Regions from separate parts of the Homo sapiens genome. Here region 2 is linked to region 1. Evidence: promoter capture Hi-C in human tissues and cell types (Jung and others, 2019). All regions are on one chromosome and are shown on one strand. Each heading gives the region's core, a stretch centred on a gene start or on the middle of the fragment in contact. The rest is flanking DNA. Distances are from core to core; before and after follow the strand shown.

The links. The method cuts DNA at HindIII sites, captures the fragments that hold promoters and counts their contacts. A contact is called where the count stands out against the background at its distance.
Region 2: a contact is called between a fragment that was not itself captured here and the fragment with the promoter of VSX2 in region 1, in 2 of the 25 tissues and cell types used here (liver and mesenchymal stem cells).

What each region holds. Positions count from the first base shown.
Region 1 is chr14:74,237,564-74,242,239 of GRCh38, forward strand. VSX2 (visual system homeobox 2) reads left to right here and starts at 1,886. Exons shown (of 5, transcript NM_182894.3): 1 at 1,886-2,368; 2 at 3,619-3,703. The coding sequence starts at 1,999. RefSeq lists an enhancer at 3,237-4,202. The HindIII fragment of the contact is 17,172 bases long and covers 1-4,676 here.
Region 2 is chr14:74,293,203-74,297,878 of GRCh38, forward strand. ABCD4 (ATP binding cassette subfamily D member 4) reads right to left here. Exons shown (of 19, transcript NM_005050.4): 5 at 3,131-3,247; 6 at 2,652-2,777; 7 at 1,946-1,996; 8 at 1-46. Among named protein-coding and RNA genes, the nearest start is that of ABCD4, 7.4 kb to the right of the region's middle. The HindIII fragment of the contact is 3,358 bases long and covers 68-3,425 here.

The DNA.
Region 1 (4,676 bases), core at 636-3,135:
TTGCCCATCAGCTGGCATCTGGCTCATCGTGGATGTCTCATGATAAGTCAGGGACATGACAGATGCCATTAACATAACATCCTCATCCATCCTCCCAGGGTGGGCTGGCATGGAGAGTGGGCTGAGAGAGGGATGGAGTCAAAAGAAAACAGCTTCTGACATCAGACTCATGCGCTGACTCATCTGACCTCTGATGCTTACTAGCTAGGTAACCTCTTAGGCAACATAAGTTTGTGTATCCATTAAATGGGGACAGAAATTCTTTTCTGGCAGGTGAGTCTACTGCTTTGCACAACTCCAGAGGGCACCATTCACATTGTTGTCTACGTGAGTGGTGTTACTTGGGACCCACCTCCATAGAATATAAGGTGAAGAATGCCTTGAGATTGTGTCACCAGAGATGACACCATGTAAGGGGCCTGGGATGATGTAGGCACACAGTAGGCACGGCCTTATTATGGGATACAGAGGCACCACTCTCCCAGATATCTCCTGCACCATGAGATGCCCCTACCTAATTCCAGCTGTTATGTGGACCAAACCAATGGGAGTGGAGACCCTCCTCACAACAGCCCTGCTAGCAAGGTCTAGGTTCCACATCCTGAGGTGCCTCCTCTTACCTCTCAGGCTGGCCCCATGGCAGCCACGAGGGTACCAGACACCTTGGCAATAGGCCAGGTATGGCTAGGGGGTTTCCTTCCATTTGGGGGTTTGCACCTGACTGGCTAAGAAATCCTGGATGGAATCTTCCCAGCCTGGTTTTCCAATCTCTGCTTAAAGCAATGGACCTAGTCCTTATCTCCCCATAGGGTGCCTTCAATTCAAGGAACCTACCATGAACTGACCATATGCTAGGCGCAGTGAAGAAGGGAGCCTCAAGGTCGATAAGATAGTTCCCAGCCCCAAGAAGGTCACAGAAGAGTTAGCTGAGGTGGTGGAGTGCAGGGGAAAGCAGCTTACCTTTTAATTTCCTCTCACCCGCTTCCTCCTTCCTCTCCCTCCACATCAACAATCCCTTCCTCTTCATTCTGTTTGCTCAATGAACTCTGAAGTATAGCAGGGCCCTTGCCTTGTCTGATTTACTGCGGAACCCCTGGCTACCAGGTCGGAGCTAGTAGCTCAATACATATTAGTCGAATGAATTGGGTGGAAGAATCAAGTCCTCCCATGAAAGTTGGGCATGCTTCATGCTTACTCTAGGAAGAGGTTTGGATGTCCATGGTTGTTCTCCAAAAGTAATCATCACTGTTCCTCTTTCCCACCAGGGACCCCTCTTTCTGACCCATTTATCATTCATTCATTGGGCCAATATGTGTTGAGTAGCTCTTCCGAACTAGGCATTATACCTTGTGCTGGGGAAGCAAACTTTCCCTACCCCTACATCACCCTCTGCACACCTTGGCCTGATCTTTTCCCAGCTTACCACCACACACACTGCCCCAGCACTTACCTCTCCCTTGTTCAACCGTTTACACAGAGGTGCCATATTCAGGCCGCCCTGATGCTGCCAACCTGCATAGGAGTTGAGGGAAGGAGGTCTCCCAGTCTCTCACCTCTGCCCTTAGCCCATCCTTCCACCTGACCTCAGGGACCTGTCCCTGCCAGAATCTGCCCAGAGCCCCAAGCCACTCTGCCTCCCGGAACAGCCCTGAACCTGAACCTGGTTGTCTCACTTCGGCCCCTGGGGTCCCTGCCCATGGGCATCCTGCAGAGCCCACCCGGTGCTCCACCCCCAGCACCCTGGCCATTCGACATTGCCTGCGGCGGGAGCTGCCAGCTTTTTGGAATTCCTAATCGCTCCTGGCCCCGGTGATTGGCTGCTCAGCTCTGACCCCACTTGGGCTGCCGCCTGGTTGGATAAAAGGGGAATCTCCTTGGGCTCCAGAGCATTAGACACCGGAGGGGGCACCTGGGACCAACTTCGCGAAGCGGGAAGCCCGGCGGGGGGGTGGGGGGAGCTAAAGACCTGCGGCCTCAGCCCCTCCAAAGAACAGGGAGATGACGGGGAAAGCAGGGGAAGCGCTGAGCAAGCCCAAATCCGAGACAGTGGCCAAGAGTACCTCGGGGGGCGCCCCGGCCAGGTGCACTGGGTTCGGCATCCAGGAGATCCTGGGCTTGAACAAGGAGCCCCCGAGCTCCCACCCGCGGGCAGCGCTCGACGGCCTGGCCCCCGGGCACTTGCTGGCGGCGCGCTCAGTGCTCAGCCCCGCGGGGGTGGGCGGCATGGGGCTTCTGGGGCCCGGGGGGCTCCCTGGCTTCTACACGCAGCCCACCTTCCTGGAAGTGCTGTCCGACCCGCAGAGCGTCCACTTGCAGCCATTGGGCAGAGCATCGGGGCCGCTGGACACCAGCCAGACGGCCAGCTCGGGTAGGTGAGGAGAGGTTGCGCTGCTGCCTGACTGGGGGGCGACAGCCGGGAGCCCCGCGCCGTCGGCTCTCGCTTGCTGGACCAGGCCTCCAGGCGGAAAAGTTCCTGCCAGGCCGGGGGTCGCCGCCTGGGCCTTGGGCCGACGCGCCTGGTGATGGGGCCCGGGAGGATGCTTCGGCGTCCGCAGGGTTTCGGCCCCAAGCGTTTCGGGCGGCCGCGCAGTTCTCCAGTCCCCGCGTCGGGCAGGGCTCGGCCACGGCACTCTGTTGGAGCCCCACTGAAAACTGGGTTTGGGGTGTCGGAGCCCGTGGTGCAGAGTCGCCGGCCGTGTCGGAGGGCCCCAGCACCGCTGCTCCACTGCGGCCCCGGCCTGGTGTAGGATCCGCACTCCTCGAGCCCGATGCTGTTCCGGCTCCGGCCCCATCCCTGGTGTCCAAAGTTGTCTGATTCCCAAATCCCGCGCTGGTCAACTGGGGTTTATTTTTCACCCCCACGAGCTCAGACAACCCGGCCATCGCGGCAGCTAAAGCGGCCGCCATCCTCTCCCACGTAAGCGCCACTATATACTGGAGCCCGGGGACGCGCGGGCTCGGGGACCCTGGGTGACCTCTCCGCCTTCTCCCCGCGCTGCTTTCCGGGAGGTGTGTCGCGGCCCGCTCGAACCTCCGATTCCTGTTTGAGCTTGGCAATTCCCCCGATTTTTCGTTGCGTTTTACTTTGTTTTACGTGGAAAGGCAACGAAAACCAGCGCGTCGCAGGCTCTCGGGCCTCGAGTAGGGACGCATTGTGCCGCCTTGCGAAAAGGACGGTGCTCGGCAGCCCCCAGTCTTCCCGGAGCCCAGCTCCCCACGCCTCCGCTCCGCTCCTCGCTCCTCGAGGCCAACTTTCCGGCCCGGGGCATTGGGGCTGGCCGCGCAGGGCAGGGCGCAGCAGGGTCGCGAGCGCTGCCGGGGATCTCTGCGGCCCCCTAAGGCTGCCTCGCTCTCCGTCGTCCCGGTCCCAAGCGCGCCGGGGCCTTTGCCTCTCTTACAACGAAATCTGTTCAAAACCTCCGGATTCGGGCCCCGGCGCGGGAGAGGTCAGCCTGAGCTCAGGGATGGGACGGCCACCGGGGCGCCCGCAGGCTTCCTGGGGAGACAGAGCAGGTCCCCGCCGCTCGCGGAGGCAGCCCGGGGTGGGGCCCTCGCGGGTTTCGGGCACAGCGGAGCGCGTCCCCCACTCTGCCGCATGTCCCTACGCCCGCTTTTCAGATTCTGAAGATGTTTCCTCCAGCGATCGAAAAATGTCCAAATCTGCTTTAAACCAGACCAAGAAACGGAAGAAGCGGCGACACAGGTGAGGCCCCCGCTTTCTGTTACCTCTCCTGCCCGCGCACCCCGCTGCCGTCCCCCGTTCCGGGATCGGGTCTCTCGGACCCTATTTTCGCCGACAACGGATCTGAGGTCCGAGGCCGTGCCAGGGCGCAGACCACGGGTTGTTTGGCGGAATCTGCCCGGGGGCCTTGGCGTCGGCACCGGTTGAGCAGGATGAGTGGCCGCCGGGAAAGCGGCCCGGTTCGGGCTTTCTCCTCCTTGTTCAGGAGAAAGGAAAGGCTCCAACACAGGCCAAACTGAGCCACAGAGTGGGGGCGGTCCCCAGATCCCCGCACCAGTACATTCTGAGAGCCACACAGACCCGGCGGCGGGCAGATTAGCTCCCACCTCCTGCCAGAGCCGGTTCTTTGCCCTCGGCCTCAACCGCCGCCCCCATTTCTCTCCCGGGGTCCCTGTCCTCTCTGCCAACTCCCTAAGCTTTCTGCTCCCACCGTTCTCCAAAGCTGGAGCGATCTCTGCACTGACAGAGCATTTTCTTTTGGCTTCTGCTCATTCGTGATTCTGACCGAGTCGCTTCCCTTCTGTGAGCCTCAGTTTCCTCGTCTGCAAAATGGAGTGGTAGGCGATGTAGACTGGACGGTCCCACCAGCCGTAGCTGGAGTAGGGTGGACTGCATCGGGGTACAGACTAGAAAGGGTTTTGTTTTGTTTTGTTTTGTTTTGTTTTTGTCTTTAAATGGAAATTACTTGCACAAAGTTAAAACTCAGTAGATGCCGACAGGTATATCTTGAAAAGTAACCTACCCTTCTCCCACCCCCGCCCTCATTCCCTTCCGCACCAGCCGCACTGCTACCAGTTCCTTGGGTACATTTGTAAGGTGGTTTTCAAGGAAATAAAGGAGAAAGAACCAAAAATCTGCCTGCCTTTCTGCGGGTGCTGCTCGCAGGTGCTGCCCCGGCGCTCACCTCGGAGCTATTTCCCCGCACCCCACTCCG
Region 2 (4,676 bases), core at 497-2,996, 56 kb after region 1:
TCTCTGCAGCCTGCGGTCTGTCCTCATGTGCTCCACATGCCCAGCTCTGACAAGGAAAGGCTGGGATGTCCACAGGGCTGGAGAGGTTCAGCCAGGTTGGGGGGCCGCCTGTCCCATATCACACCCTCCTTTAGAAACCAAGGCCATTCAAATGATCTTGGTCTCAGGATCTGTCTACTGGTAGCGCCCATTCACGGCTTCAGTCATGCCTTAATGGTATTGTCTGTGTGAAGAACATAAACTCTAGAGTTGGGCAGACCTAGTTCAAATCCTGGCTCTGGCCAGTTACTAGCTGCGTGACACAGGCAGGCTACTTAAGCCTCCAAGCCTCAGTTTTTTTAATCTATAAAATGGAGCCAATAATACCTATGTAATAGGTTAGAGTTAGAATTAAAAGTTTCTAAATATAAAGTGCCAAGCACATAAGGAGCCCTCAATAAATAAAAACTATTGTTAAATAAACATACACAGAGCGGTCACTAGGTGTACCAGGCATTGCACTAGTTAGCTAGTGCAATAAAGAAATGAGAAAATTATCTCTGTCTTTGAGGAGCTCTCAGTCCAGAGGGCAGGCAGGCACACTGCATTCTTCACTTGGAATCAGGAGTACTAAGTGTGCCCTCAGGGCCATGGCAGCAGATAGGCTTAGCCATTAAGGGAGTCTGGGAAGGCTCTCCAGAGGAGGTGATCTGGGGTTTCAAGGATGGGAAGAAATTCGCTAGGCAGAAAAGGTGGAGGGAGATTTCAGATTTTGCACAGAGGCCACAGAAGAACTCATCTGAAACTCTACAAACTAACCTGCCTTCCCCAGAGCTTCATGAGCAGAGGCTGCAGAATCCAAAAGCAACTTTTTTCTTTTTTTTTTTTTGAGACGGAGTCTTGCTCTGTCACCCAGGCTGGAGTGCAATGGCAGGATCTTGCCTTACTGCAACCTCTGCCTCCCGGATTCAAGTGATTCTCCTGCCTCAGCCTCCCCAGTAGCTGGGATTACAGGTGCCCGCCACCATGCTCAGCTAATTTTTTGTATTTTTAGTAGAGACAGGGTTTCACCATGTTGGCCATGGCTGGTCTCGAACTCTTGACCTCAGGCAATCCACCCGCCTCGGCCTCCCAAAGTGCTGGGATTACAGGCATGAGCCACCATGCCCGGCCTCCAAAAGCAACTTTTTTACACACCCAGCCCTGCCCACCTCACAACCCCACCCCAGCGCAGATTCCCAGTATTCTTGGTGCCCTCAAGTGGTGGAGGTTGCAAACTGCAGCAGAGACTGAGGAGCAAAGGTCCCAGGGCTATCACATCCACCCCAAGTACAGAGCCAAGGAGTAGCTTCCACTTCTTAAACGCAAACCTCTGCCTGCACTATCAATCCTAACGCTGATTTCAGAGGCCTCACATAAGGCAGAGCACAGGGACCGGTTCTGGCCCTGGAGGGAAGGGATGGGATTTCATGCCGCTGCTGCTGCTCCTGCTGCTGCCGTCAGGAGACCAGACGCTTGGCTCCATTAGACAGCATTGTGGGGAGCAGGTCTCCTGGTTTTCTGAGAAGCTCCCATTCCATCCCACGCTACGGAGACAAAGGATCAGGCTTGAACCTCAGGCACTGGCAAGAAAGCTTCTTAACAGACAGAAGAGCAGAGGCAGACGGATGTCTTACAGTCACCAGCAAGAGGATGAGGCATTCATTCATTTGACAATTTCAGGCCCCACGCTAGGCCACTAAGACTAAAGCTGGCCACAGTAAGGAACCACCAGCTTCAGAAGCAAACCCCTGGACCTAAGGATGAGGCAGGCAAGGGCAGGGGGAGGTAGAGGGAGAGGGTCACAGCCAAGTGTGACAACACTCAGCCCCTGAGCTCGGTGGTGGTGGGAGGGTTGAGGATTCATCTTTCCTTCTCCACTCTCAGCTCTGGCAAGGCAGAAGGGGAACCATCTCTCCAGACTCACCTGTAGAAAGCAGCAGGCTCCGCATTCACCCGAATCTGCATGTGCTTGAACCTGGGCGGACCAAAGGGAAATGTGTGCTGACAACAGGGAGTACTGGCCTCACTCTTGTTGGAGTCCTGGATCACAAAGACCGCCCAAGCGGAGCCCGGCTCTGCCTCAAAACCGTGGCTGCCTCAGTCTGACCCTTTCCTGGACTGTTATGGGGTAGAAAACCCCAGGGCTAGGTGGTGTGGCAGGAGCTCTGCAGAGACAGGGCTGCCCCTCAGCTTTCTGCAGAGAGGACAGGGGTATTCCTGCTCACAGCATCTCCTCCTCCCAGGGCCTGGCCCAAAGGAGGGGGACAAGAAGCACAGGGCAGGCACTGGATCCATTGGCTGCCACACCCAACTGATCCAAGACAGGGCGGTTATGCCAGGGCAGTGAGAAGGCCAAGAGATGACAATGACGATGGTGATGGCCAGGCAGACACGGTTCTCAGACCTTCTCAGGTATGATTTCATTAATCCTCCTAATCCTCTCAGTAGGCAACGGTACCATTTCCACTTTAGAGACAAGAACATTGAAGCTTGGAGAGGTTAAAGACCTCTCCAAGATCACACAGCTAGTAACTGGCACAGCTAGGATTTGAACTTAGGCAGTTTTACTCCAGATCCCCTTCCTTAACTATTATGCCCCAGCCCAGAAACCTCAAGTGAGGGAGACACACCTAAAATCTCCCTCCAGCTTCTCCTGATGCACCAGCTTCATCACAATGGGGCCCATCAAAGTTTTGTTCACCACGGTCCCCAGGATGAAATACCCGAAGATGCTCACAGGCCCGAGCCAGCCTGTGCTGAAATAGAGAGAGAGGGAGAGAAGGGAGAGGGTGTGGGGTGCCACCTATCCCCACATGCCTCAGCCCTGACTCCTGTTCCCTCTCAGGTAGCCCCTGTCCAATCTGAGTGGCCCAATGGGCCCTCTGCTCCTATGTGGGGGCATCTGGTATGAGCTCTCAGAGCCAGGATATCTGTGACACTGCAACACAGGGCCAAAGGAAGGGCAGGGGCCTGAGCACGTGGGATGGGTGAGCACGTGGTAAGGTACGGTGGGAGAGAGGGGAAATAAGCTTCTCTTGGACCTTGACCTGGGAGAGCTGACTGAGGGCCCTCTGGGGAAACACCAGGCTGGGGAGGAGGGAGGCTTCACCTTTGGAAGCACTGGTAAGTGTAGTAGACGAGGGTGAACGGGGAGATGATGAGCTTGCTGGCCATGCTGCTGAGCTGCCGGCAGAATCGCTCCACGTCCTGGCTGATGCGCTGGTCCCTGGAGCCAATGACACAGAGTAGCTGGACCCAGGGAGATGGGCCCAAAGGTAGAGAGAACAAGAAACTTTCACATCACCTCTGCTCTTGACCTTGCCTCACAGTGCTGTGAACACTGACCCTATGGGAAGAGGGAACCAGACAAGGCTGGTTTCCTAGGGGCAACTAAATCCCAGGGCCTTTAAACAGGGTTCTAGAGAGTTGCATCTTACGGTGCCTTAGTTAATCCCCTGAAAAAGTGGGAACTGAAAGGTCCAGTACCCAGGGGCCTGAGCCAGCTCTGAGCAGAGCCAAAGAAAAACTTGAAGGTAGATGAGCTGTTTTGGATGATCAAGAAGACTATCCCCTTTATCTCAATCCTCCCAAATTTCTCTTATATAAGCCCTAGCCTGGCCCCTTTAGTTATCTGGCTGTGAAAGCTCCAGGCTGTGAGGCACACCTGTAGTCCCAGCTACTCAGGGGGCAGAGGCAGGATGGAAGCCATAGCCATCAGAAAGAGGCCTAGAAGTTAGGCAGCAGCAGCAGCCTCCCACGCATCTTTGCACCAAAGCTAAGCTTGAGCTGAGAGGTACCCCAACCAACAAAGTGCTTGCTAGGAAGGTGGTGAGTGAGGGGATGGGTGTGAAGGAGACCCCCTATGTCTCATCTCACCACTAGGGCCATACTGATTCCTATTCCCAATGAGTGACGTGACCTTGGGCAAGTCACTTGCAATCTCTGGGCTTCAGCTTCCTCATCTGTAAAATAACAATAGCTAACTTACACTGAAACACTTGCTATGTGTCAAGCACTGTACATGTGCATTACATGAATGATATTTCATCCTCACTACACCCTTTGAGATAGGAACTATTATTGTCCTCATTTTACAGAAGGGGAACCTGGGGCTTGGTGACTTTAAGAGTTATAACCTGAGTGGTGATAGAATGGAGATGTGAATCCTAGACTGAGTCCTGGATAGTGGTAATTTTTTTTACTGATGAAAATCTAAGAGCTGGTTTTTCTAGCAAGGACATTTTCTTTAGAACCCTCTAAAGAAACCCCTTAGTCTTCTTACTGGAAGACTAAGATATAAAGTATGAAAAGGACAAAAGAAAGCTGCTCCTAACATTTTTCTTTTTTTTAAGAGATGGGGGTTTCTGCTATGTTGCCCAGGCTAGAGTACAGTGGCTATTCCCAAGTGTGCTCACGGTGCACTACTCCTGGGCTCAAGTGATCCTCCTGCCTCAGCCTCCTGAGTTGTTGGGACTACAGGTGCATGCCACTGCACCTGGCAGGCTTCTTCTTTTTAGCTGCCTATTCACAGCCCTGCAGCTTCTCCAGGAGTCCTCTGCAGGGCACCCTCCCCCATGACTCTGGGCAGCAGCATTTGAAAACGACTGCAGATGATCTCCTTGGTGTCTGCCACCAGCAGTCTCCAGGGCTAGGCC